2 separate regions of the Homo sapiens genome follow, and region 1 is linked to region 2. Evidence: promoter capture Hi-C in human tissues and cell types (Jung and others, 2019). All regions are on one chromosome and are shown on one strand. Each heading gives the region's core, a stretch centred on a gene start or on the middle of the fragment in contact. The rest is flanking DNA. Distances are from core to core; before and after follow the strand shown.

Evidence for each region. Contacts are between HindIII fragments. The study calls those that stand out against the background at their distance.
Region 1: a contact is called between a fragment that was not itself captured here and the fragment with the promoter of ANKRD39 in region 2, in 1 of the 25 tissues and cell types used here (dorsolateral prefrontal cortex).

Annotation. Positions count from the first base shown.
Region 1 is chr2:96,343,195-96,348,662 of GRCh38, reverse strand. NCAPH (non-SMC condensin I complex subunit H) reads right to left here. Exons shown (of 18, transcript NM_015341.5): 5 at 5,359-5,468; 6 at 4,434-4,558. Among named protein-coding and RNA genes, the nearest start is that of NCAPH, 10 kb to the right of the region's middle. The HindIII fragment of the contact is 3,084 bases long and covers 1,128-4,211 here.
Region 2 is chr2:96,856,754-96,862,478 of GRCh38, reverse strand. It overlaps ANKRD39 (ankyrin repeat domain 39), which reads left to right and starts at 4,463. Exons shown (of 4, transcript NM_016466.6): 1 at 4,463-4,591. The coding sequence starts at 4,492. SEMA4C (semaphorin 4C) reads left to right here. Exons shown (of 15, transcript NM_017789.5): 13 at 585-742; 14 at 830-900; 15 at 1,024-2,761. The coding sequence ends at 1,853. RefSeq lists silencers at 3,933-4,602, 4,633-4,802. The HindIII fragment of the contact is 43,475 bases long and covers 1-5,725 here.

The DNA of each region.
Region 1 (5,468 bases), core at 1,420-3,919, 510 kb after region 2:
ATAATAATAATGACAGTAAGATAAATTCCAGATTATCTGGGAAGGGGAAAAAACAAGGAGAATTGGGGGAGGGAAGGGAACGTAGAAAGGGCTTTCTGGATCCCTATGACTAATAAATAATACCACTTCAGATGTGTGTAGCATATCACCATGTTTAAAGACCTTGACATAGGCCAGGTGCGGTGACTCACACCTGTAATCCCAGCACTTTGGGAGGCCGAGGCGGGCGGCGGATCACAAGGTCAGAAGATCAAGACCATCCTGGCTAACACGGTGAAACCCCGTCTCTCCTAAAAATACAAAAAATTAGCCGGGCATGGTGGCGGGTGCCTGTAGTCCCAGCTACTCTGGAGGCTGAGGCAGGAGAATGGCGTGAACCCGGGAGGTGGAGCTTGCAGTGAGCTGAGATAGCGCCACTGCACTCCAGCCTGGGCGACGGAGCAAGACTCCATCTCAAAAAAAAAAAAAAAAAGAGAGAGACCTTGGCATAAATGGATTCACTAATATAAAACCGAGATGTGGTTGGGGCCAGCGTTCCCCATTTTTTATAGTATATGACAGTGAGATTCACAACTCTTCCCAGGTCAACAGCTAAGCACCGCACCCGGCCTACGTCAAGGTCTTTAAACATGGTGATATGCTACACACATCACCCACGGTTAATGCTGACACACACATAAGGAAAAAATACAACTCCCTCTCCCCACAAGAGCCAGCTGCTCTCGCCTCTCCCCTCCCTCTTAGGCCTCATTCTCAGTGACTCTCCTTCCTCTGGCCCCTCCCTGCCCGTGCACAGCAATGCCCTGCTCACCTCACCACTCAGAGTGGGCATGGCAAGGCCCCACCTCCCTAGCCCCTTGCACACTCAGTCTTACCACTACCATCTGCTGTAAGAACACTGGCATTCATCTCACTGTTGCCCTTTATCTGGCTTATTTATTAATTACACAAAAAGACCCAAGACACCCACAATTCTACATTTCTTGGACTCTAAGATCTATAGAACTCTGATGCCACCTCCCACCCCACCACAGCCCCCATCTCCCACTCCTCCTCAAAAACTGGTATTTCCTCAGGGCCCTCTAGACTCAGTCATCAGCAAAATTCTCTCTATCGCCCACTTAGTTCCTGAGGATTATCTCCACCTACTTGTTCTAATTTATGTATTCTCAATGGTGTTCTCATTTCACTCTCAAGGGGTGAAAACTGTTTCCTAGAGGCTAGGTGGGAAAAATCTTAGATATTACAATAATGTTTGCCTATCCAAATCTCTACCCTATCTGACAAAATCTTATTCCTTAGTATTTCATTTTAAGGGGAAGGAGTAGGCACAAAATGTCTAAATGGGTCTGAAGGGGCAAAAGTGATAAAAAAAAAAAAAAAACAGGCTGAGGGGCACTGCTCCAATTGAGACATGGTGCCAGCCTGAGGATAGGCTTCCCCTGCGGGCCTCTGCAGTGGCTGCTTTCTCTTCACAGCCGTCAAACCAGTGGCCTACAGGTGGGCCAGGTGATTGCAGCATCCAACTATCCCCCCTCCCAATTTCTAATGCCCCAGCTCTGAGTACAACATCAGCTTTTGCCACTGTCTGCCCATCTGTGTTGCAGTCATCTTCCAATCCCCAGGTCACAACCTGTCCTTCTTCTCAGAAGATCTTAGTATTAGTTTATGGCTCATTACTAGTCTCCAAATTTATTCCTGGTGTAGCTCTTATTGATTTCAATATCCATATGTTGATCCATCCAGTACACTGTCTCTTGGTTGATATCCTCTCCTTCAATGGTCTCCATCCTAAGAAACCCAGGACTCCAAGACAGCCAAGTAAGACACCAAGACAGCCTAGTAAGACCCCTACCCCGCCTCCGCCATTTGCTCCCTTGCCTGCTCTGAGTTGACTCATTAACCATGACTGCAACCTCTCTATATCCTCAATTCTAGGGCCCCTCTCTGGCAACCACCTCCTACATTTCCAGCTCACCCCTTCTTGTCCCCAACACCACGAAGTCTTTGACCCCACCAGGCCTACAATCTACTGATTATATTACTTTCCACTGCCCTCATTCCCCTGTCTTCCGAGGTAAAATTCCCTAAGCAGTGAATGCAACCACACCTTTACACATGCACTCACCTCCTCCAGTGTCCCTTTCCAGCTGTGTCCATTCACTCAGCTCAACAGGATCCCATATTAAACCCAACTTTCTGCCTACTCCATGATTGTACCCACACAGCTATTCACGGCTGGACAGAGACACAAAATAATGCTGACTGACCTCACTTTATATCCATCTGCCACCACCCTCAAGTAGACCCTAAGTTGTCTAACAGTCACACCATATCTCCCTAGTTCATGTACTCGCCCACCTCCTAGAGGACTCTTTCCTACCCTTTCCCCTCCTCACGCCCCCAGTGCCTTCCTTCCCTATCCTCACTGTAAGCTGATGACCTGGCTTCCTGTTTTAAGACAGTATCCAGAAGGCTCCCCCATGAGTGCACCCAAACAACACCCGTCAGCCGAGCCCAACCTGTGCTGTCCATTCCCTACCTCTCACCTGCGCAAGGACATCAGCCTGGCAATTCTCCTTTCTGCTGCATCATCAATAATCCCTTCTCCAAACTAGACTGCTGTCATCAACAAAATATGCTGTCATTTCTCCCATTCAAAAACAAAATCAAAACTCTTGGCCTTACTTTTCCCTCCATTTGCTATCCCAGTACTCTGCTCCAAATTATAGCAAAACTCTTCAAAACAACTACCTATATTCAAGTGTTTTCAGTCCTTTCCTCCCATTTATCATAAAAAAAATTTCAGATCCACAAGAATGTTGAAACAGTAATACGAATCTCTGTAAAGCTTCTACTCAGATTACCCAATGGGTAGCATTTTGCATATTTGTTTTCATTTACTCTCTCTATATATATCTCTCTCCCCACCCCAGAGTCTTTTGTCAGTAATCCTCATGACACTTCACCATGTCCCAGTTACTAAGCTACTGCCTCTCAGCTCTAAGCCTACCCTCTCTCCTTGGCTGTGATGCAGGGTCTGGGACATTCAGCTTTGCCGGCAGCTCCCTGTTAGGGTTTACCAAGTAGGGGCACTAGAGGGAGACTACAGGCTCCAAGGGAGAGAAGGCACTGCTCCTTTCTGCAGGTTGCATGTTAGGAGAGCGTCACCCAGCAGTGTTCCACCCCGGCTGCAGCAGAGCCCACCTGTAGCAGCAGCTGAACCCCACTGGCAGATTTTCACACTCACAGAACCAGCCTTATTGAGACACCAGCACCAGCCAGCATGCCCCCGTTCCAGGGTCTGGGTCCTGGGCACACAATCCCCTCCCTCAAACTCAGGGACACTAGCACCAGCCAAGCCCTTCCCTGGAGGTCTGAGCTTGAGTTTCAGAGGGGCCCCCACTCCAAGCTCATTAGTGGCCTCAGGTTGCCACATTTGGCATGGTTGATCATTCCCCACTCCCTGAAATATTTTCTCATTTGGATACCACGCTCTTCTGGTTTTCCTCCTACCTACTGGATGTTTTTTCAGCTCTCTGAACTCCTAAGATTGGGGAAAAGGAACTCCCAGTCTTTTTCCCATATACATTCATTTCCTTGGTGACCAATTCTAGTTTTGTGACCTTAATTACCATTTATGAATGTTGTGGAGGTAAGAGAGAAAAGTAATCTAGTCTACTGCTAGTGGGAGAGTAAATTAGTACCTTTTTTTGAGGGCAACTTAAAATCCATGTCTCAGAATTTTCTTACAGATATTCTCCCATACGAGTGCAAAGATAATATGTATTAGAATGTTCACTGAAACAATGTTTTTAATGGCAGAATTAAAAAATAAAATTGTAGTAACACCTGTTTGCTTTAAATTAACTGTGCTAATTATAGATGAGGCCTCCAGTACCATTTGTTTAAGCCGATTCCTTAGGATTTGCTAGATAGATGATTTAAAGCTAGGATTCTGGAGTTAGACCACTTAGCTTCAACTTCTAGCTCACTTACTAGATGTGTCGTTTCAGGCAAGTCATTGTGCCTCAGTTACCTCTTCCTAAAATGATACAAGAATGTTGTGAGGATTAAATGAGTTAATACAGGTTACAGGCTTAAGGAAGCACATGGTGCTCACTATGTGTACATTAAATGTTAGCTAACATAACCACTGCTACATTTACTAGGAAATAAAATTAATTTTTTATCAATTAGATTTCTCAGCAATTTGCAGTCTCTTCCTTTTGAATCATTCTGAAACACTGAGGGACTTACTTTTAGTCTTTACTGTCAAGCTAAAAGATGATAATGCAGAGATATCAGTTGAATATTTTACTCCCTTGAGGCTTAAACAGGCACATACCAGCAAGGCAGCCTTAGCCCTGCCAAGTCTCAGCCCCTAAGGTTCTGAATTAGTCAGAAACCACACTGCGCATACAGTTCCTCACCTCACACTTCCGATCTGCTTCGGAGACATTGAGGTTGTTTATGTTCTGCTCAATAGTTCTGTGTAAGTGCTTCTTCTTTGGCTTTACAGCCTTTTTGGTTGTTCCCATTTCAGTAGCACTTCCATCTAAAAGGAGAAATACAATTGCGTACTGCAAGGGCTGCTTTGAAGCATGTGATGAACTTACTAACTCAAGTTCTTCAAAACCTGTCGTAATTTAAACATGTGAGGCCAGGTGTGGTGGCTCATGCCTGTAATCCTAGCGCTTTGGGAGGCTGAGGCAGACGGATCACTTGAGCTCAGGAGTTCAAGACCAGCCTGGCCAACATGACAAAACCCCGTCTCTACAAAACAGTACAAAAATTAGCCAGACATGGAGATGCACACCTGTAGTCCCAGCTACTTGGGGTGGTGAGGCAGGAGGATCACTTGAACTTGGGAGCCAGAGGCTGCCGTGAGCCCAGATCACACCACTGCATACCAGCCTGGGTGACAAAGTGAGCCTCGTTTCAAAAAAAAAAAAAACAAAACTCCAACCCCAACCAAACAAAAAACACGCAGTTCTCTCAAAACATCAGGCATATTTAATCTGCAACTTATGGAGAAACCAAACTATTAGATTTGGCTTCTCACGCAAGTCCATTTCCAAAGACTCCCAGATCAGAAGTTCCTTAGTTGGTGATGTTTACACAACCTGGCCTAAATAAAATATAAACGCTTTTATAAGGCCCTTCTCTTTTTCAAGGAAATATAATTTTAGTGTTTGAGTATCTTCTCACGTAAGACCATATATGGTTCTAAAAATGCCCTGTCTTCAATAAAATGAGATCACTTATTTCTTGTGACCTTCTTCTAGTATATTACTCAAGTAACTACCTGGTATGCCCTAAAAAGAGCCACTTAAATCCAGATCCCTACCCACCTACCAGCAACATGGCCTTCTACTTCTTCCAAAGACGGTGCATCTTTGCCCAGCCCCCCAAGGACTCTGTATACATCGGCATGGACGGCATCCACGCGCACAGCATAGATCTTG
Region 2 (5,725 bases), core at 3,214-5,713:
CAAAGTGCTGGGATTCCAGGCATGACCTGCTGTTCCTAGTTGCCTTGTGCAATACTCTTGTGGCATGTTTGCTACACCTCCTGAACTTTGATTTGTTTGCCTTTTACCAGCTATTATGACTCAAAATTGTCCCCTAGAACATGGAATAATGGCAGAAAGAAAGTGTGTGGTTGAATAAACACACAGATTGGCATCCACCGTTGAAACAGGAAAACATCTTATGTTATGCTGCTGCTGTTGTGAGGGCTGATGGGCCTTGAAATGTATTTCCTGCACTATGTGTGTGTGAGTGTGTGTGATTATACTTTTTGGCCTCACAGCCCCATCATCCCTTTCTAATAACGTCACGTCGATAAGGGGCTTAGGATTGCATCTGGCCTGTGTAAGCCCTCTGAGTTCTGCGGTTCTTAGAGTTCCCTTTTCAGCACTATAGCTCTGCCTTGTTCCCTTGTTCCTCCTTCTGGCGCCCCGTGCTGTGCCCCCTGCAGGAGTCCAAGCTGTCCCCATGCTGCGTTCTGGTCCGGCCGCCCCTCCCGTGGTGTGGCCCTGGCCGACCCCCCTCCTGCGCCCCGCTTTTCTCGCAGAAGCTGCTCTTTGCCGGCTCCCGCTCTCAGCTGGTGCAGCTGCCCGTGGCCGACTGCATGAAGTATCGCTCCTGTGCAGACTGTGTCCTCGCCCGGGACCCCTATTGCGCCTGGAGCGTCAACACCAGCCGCTGTGTGGCCGTGGGTGGCCACTCTGGGTGAGTTGGGCTCTACATAGGCCAGGACCTCCAGGGACTCAGGGTGGTTGGAGCCAGGCTGCTGATGTACCCTACATCCCCTACCAGATCTCTACTGATCCAGCATGTGATGACCTCGGACACTTCAGGCATCTGCAACCTCCGTGGCAGTAAGAAAGGTGAGCTTTTTCATTCCCGTCGCATCGGGCTGAGCCCTGGACCAGAGCTGGAGTTTCTGTTCTCCTCTTCCCCAGCCCTGCTTTCCTGCACTAACATGCACTCTGTTTTCTCTGCCACTACAGTCAGGCCCACTCCCAAAAACATCACGGTGGTGGCGGGCACAGACCTGGTGCTGCCCTGCCACCTCTCCTCCAACTTGGCCCATGCCCGCTGGACCTTTGGGGGCCGGGACCTGCCTGCGGAACAGCCCGGGTCCTTCCTCTACGATGCCCGGCTCCAGGCCCTGGTTGTGATGGCTGCCCAGCCCCGCCATGCCGGGGCCTACCACTGCTTTTCAGAGGAGCAGGGGGCGCGGCTGGCTGCTGAAGGCTACCTTGTGGCTGTCGTGGCAGGCCCGTCGGTGACCTTGGAGGCCCGGGCCCCCCTGGAAAACCTGGGGCTGGTGTGGCTGGCGGTGGTGGCCCTGGGGGCTGTGTGCCTGGTGCTGCTGCTGCTGGTGCTGTCATTGCGCCGGCGGCTGCGGGAAGAGCTGGAGAAAGGGGCCAAGGCTACTGAGAGGACCTTGGTGTACCCCCTGGAGCTGCCCAAGGAGCCCACCAGTCCCCCCTTCCGGCCCTGTCCTGAACCAGATGAGAAACTTTGGGATCCTGTCGGTTACTACTATTCAGATGGCTCCCTTAAGATAGTACCTGGGCATGCCCGGTGCCAGCCCGGTGGGGGGCCCCCTTCGCCACCTCCAGGCATCCCAGGCCAGCCTCTGCCTTCTCCAACTCGGCTTCACCTGGGGGGTGGGCGGAACTCAAATGCCAATGGTTACGTGCGCTTACAACTAGGAGGGGAGGACCGGGGAGGGCTCGGGCACCCCCTGCCTGAGCTCGCGGATGAACTGAGACGCAAACTGCAGCAACGCCAGCCACTGCCCGACTCCAACCCCGAGGAGTCATCAGTATGAGGGGAACCCCCACCGCGTCGGCGGGAAGCGTGGGAGGTGTAGCTCCTACTTTTGCACAGGCACCAGCTACCTCAGGGACATGGCACGGGCACCTGCTCTGTCTGGGACAGATACTGCCCAGCACCCACCCGGCCATGAGGACCTGCTCTGCTCAGCACGGGCACTGCCACTTGGTGTGGCTCACCAGGGCACCAGCCTCGCAGAAGGCATCTTCCTCCTCTCTGTGAATCACAGACACGCGGGACCCCAGCCGCCAAAACTTTTCAAGGCAGAAGTTTCAAGATGTGTGTTTGTCTGTATTTGCACATGTGTTTGTGTGTGTGTGTATGTGTGTGTGCACGCGCGTGCGCGCTTGTGGCATAGCCTTCCTGTTTCTGTCAAGTCTTCCCTTGGCCTGGGTCCTCCTGGTGAGTCATTGGAGCTATGAAGGGGAAGGGGTCGTATCACTTTGTCTCTCCTACCCCCACTGCCCCGAGTGTCGGGCAGCGATGTACATATGGAGGTGGGGTGGACAGGGTGCTGTGCCCCTTCAGAGGGAGTGCAGGGCTTGGGGTGGGCCTAGTCCTGCTCCTAGGGCTGTGAATGTTTTCAGGGTGGGGGGAGGGAGATGGAGCCTCCTGTGTGTTTGGGGGGAAGGGTGGGTGGGGCCTCCCACTTGGCCCCGGGGTTCAGTGGTATTTTATACTTGCCTTCTTCCTGTACAGGGCTGGGAAAGGCTGTGTGAGGGGAGAGAAGGGAGAGGGTGGGCCTGCTGTGGACAATGGCATACTCTCTTCCAGCCCTAGGAGGAGGGCTCCTAACAGTGTAACTTATTGTGTCCCCGCGTATTTATTTGTTGTAAATATTTGAGTATTTTTATATTGACAAATAAAATGGAGAAAATGAAACGATTGCTCTGATGGGGCTAAGATGTTTGGGCTAAAGCCTTTCTGGGTACCAAGAGGGAAGGCTCTCTGGGTGGAGGGAGGCTGGACTGGGCCTCCCCCACAATCCCAGGGCAGCCACCACTTTTGTGGTCCCTGCCTGCCTGTGGGAGGGGACAGCCCAGCTCTAGTGTTTTCCCACAGTGGTGGCTGCGGGGCTGGGAACGAGACCATGGCCATAGCCCCTTGGGAGCCAGCCTTGGCTTCTGGCCAGAAGGAGAAGTCAGGGCACTGGGAGTCCAGGGGAGAAGCGGAGTGGTGGGGGGGGTGCCTTCCCAGAACTCAAGACGGGTAGTGGGAATGAGGGGCCAAAGGAGTGGAAGGTTGTGGAGATGAGATCATTGCTTGTGTGAGGATGGGGTTCTCAACCTGCTTAGGGGAGGAGAAACGACTTCCAGCCTTCTACCCACCAGGAATGCTAGGGTCTTCCGTGCCCCAACTAGCGGGGGAAGGAACTTACATCCAGTGTGCACCAGACCACTGTCCTGGAGAGGGACTGGCACAGAACCCAACCTGCATTCTGTCGTTCATGCACTCTTTCTAAGCCGATCAGGCGGTCTCCCCTGTACACTTGATCGTGGCTTGAGCAGGCAGCTGCCTGGGTTTTAACTGGGAATTGAGAAGGCTGGGGTCCGCTGAGGAGCACGCTGCGAAGGTGCGCGGTCCGCAGACGGCCTCCCGGTGGGTTTTGATCATGAAGACCGATTCCGTAAACTCAGCGCCCACTGTGGGGCCAGGGGGTTCTGCACAAACCAAGGCCCTGCCCCTGCCCTGAGGTGGAGCTACAGGCAGGACAAGTTGTGGCCACCTGCCCCTTGCTGGACTTGTAAGGAAGAGCAGGGTACGGGGAGGGGCGTCTCGAGGCCTTTCCAGCCGTCACTTTGCCGCTGCCCCGGGGGCGGTCGGCCTTGGTCCGGGGTGGTGCCAGGAAGAGGGGCTAAAAACCGTGGAGCGCGCCCCGGCCCGATGGCTCACGCCTGTAATCCCAGCACTTTGGGAGGCCAAGGTGAGCGGATCACGAGGTCAAGAGATCGAGACCATCCTGGCGAAACCCCGTCTCTACTAAAAAATACAAAAAATTAGCCGGGCGTGGTGGCGGGCGCCTGTAGTCCCAGCTACTCAGGAGTCTGACGCAGGAGAATCGCTTGAACCCGGGAGGCGGAGGTTGCAGTGAGCCGAGATCGCGCCACTGCACACAAGTCTGGGTGACAGCGAGACTCCGTCTCAAAAAAAAAAAAAAAAAAAAAAAAGACCGCGGAGCGCGTGGCGCCTCCCTGCCCTAGGGACTAGGGGCGGTAAAGAGAGGAGGCTGCGAGGTCGCTGGACGGCTGGGTCATGGCGAAGGTAACGGGAAAGCTCCCGACCGGACCCAGCTGCCTCATCCCCACACCCTGCAAGGCCAGGCGGCCCGGCGGCCCTCCAGCGGCGCGCGGCTCCCGGAACCCAGCGCCTCAGTCCTCGCTTGGCCTTGGACGCCCTCGCGCGGAGGCCTCGGGGCACGGCCGGGCGCAACAAGCCCCGCCCTACCGTTGCAATTGGTTCTCGAGCTAAGGCCTAGGCGTTTGATTGGTCAGCTTTGGCGAGAAGGCGGGACTAGGGCGACAGCCGCGGACGCCGAGCGGCCAGATCAGGGACGCGGGGCGGGCCCTGCGTCCGCCCCTCCCGCCGAGGCTGAGCCTGAGACCCGGGGCGGATCGACTGACGCCGGGGCCGGGATGGCGACGCCTCGGCCCTGCGCGGACGGGCCCTGCTGCTCGCATCCCAGCGCGGTGCTCGGCGTACAGCAGACGCTGGAGGAGATGGACTTCGAGAGGGGTGAGGCTGCCGCGCGGCCCTCGTGGTTCTCACCAGGCCCCGGCCCAAGGAGGAGGCGTGGGGCCAAGGAGAGGCGGATGAACGGGGCCCCGAGAGCTTGGGGCTTGGGGCTTGGGGCCTGGTGCGGGAAGGCGGGCGGGACCCACGGTTCCCGTGTACTGAGAGCCTCCCAGGGCCCCGCACGAGCTCGGCCAGGAGACACCTGTCCCGCGGGCGGCGGGGAAGCGGAAGCACTGGTTTCCGTAACCCTCCCGAGTAGCGGGGGACGACCTCCCCTGGGAGACACAAGCCTGCTCAGGTGTTTGAGAGAGGGCCCGGGGAGCAGAATCTGCACCAGGGGCATTGCACCCAACCTGAGGGGCATGGAGCTGCAGGCCTGGGGGCTGCGCGGTGAAGGAGAGCAGTGGCCTTTGTTTAGCCCCGGGTGCCAGGCAGCCTGCATGCTTTAAAGATGGCAAGAGCTTCGCACGGGCAGCCTTCGAGGCAGGGCACAGTATCTCATCTGTGGGACCCAGAGAGGTAACACGTTTGGCCCAGATTATACAGAGATTATGGTGCCAATAGGAACAGAGGAAGGCGGGAAACCAGGGTGCTTCTTGTGAGCGTTGGGAACCACTGTGCTGTGTCATCTGCCCTTGCGGATGCAGCCCTCGATTGCCACTGCTGTGTAAGCATTCTCATGGAACTCTTCCTTTACCGTGGTTCTGGCACCTGCCTACTTCCCTCCGCCCCTCCTACCGCTGTCCTCTGCACTGCTGAAGTGGTTGCCTCAGAGGGTCTTTCTGCTTCCACGCTTGCCTTCCTACAGGGTTTTCTACTCTCACATAGCAGCCAGAGCGGCTTTTTGAAAATTAGAAATCACATCATTCCCTGTTATGGCCTACAAAGCTCTGTAGACCCACCCCTGCCGGTTCTACTTCTCCTCCTCATTTTATTTCTCATGCTTTTCTTCCCCCAATCACTACGCCGCAGCCACACTGGTCTTGTTTTGGTGTCTCAAATATGCAAGACCTTTTCCTGAGTTAAGGCCGTTGGACTTGCTGTCCCATCTCCTTAGAATGAACTTCCTACAACCGTTAAGCTAGCTGATGCTTTTCTTCAGATCCCAGCTCCAATGTCATCTCCTCAGAGACC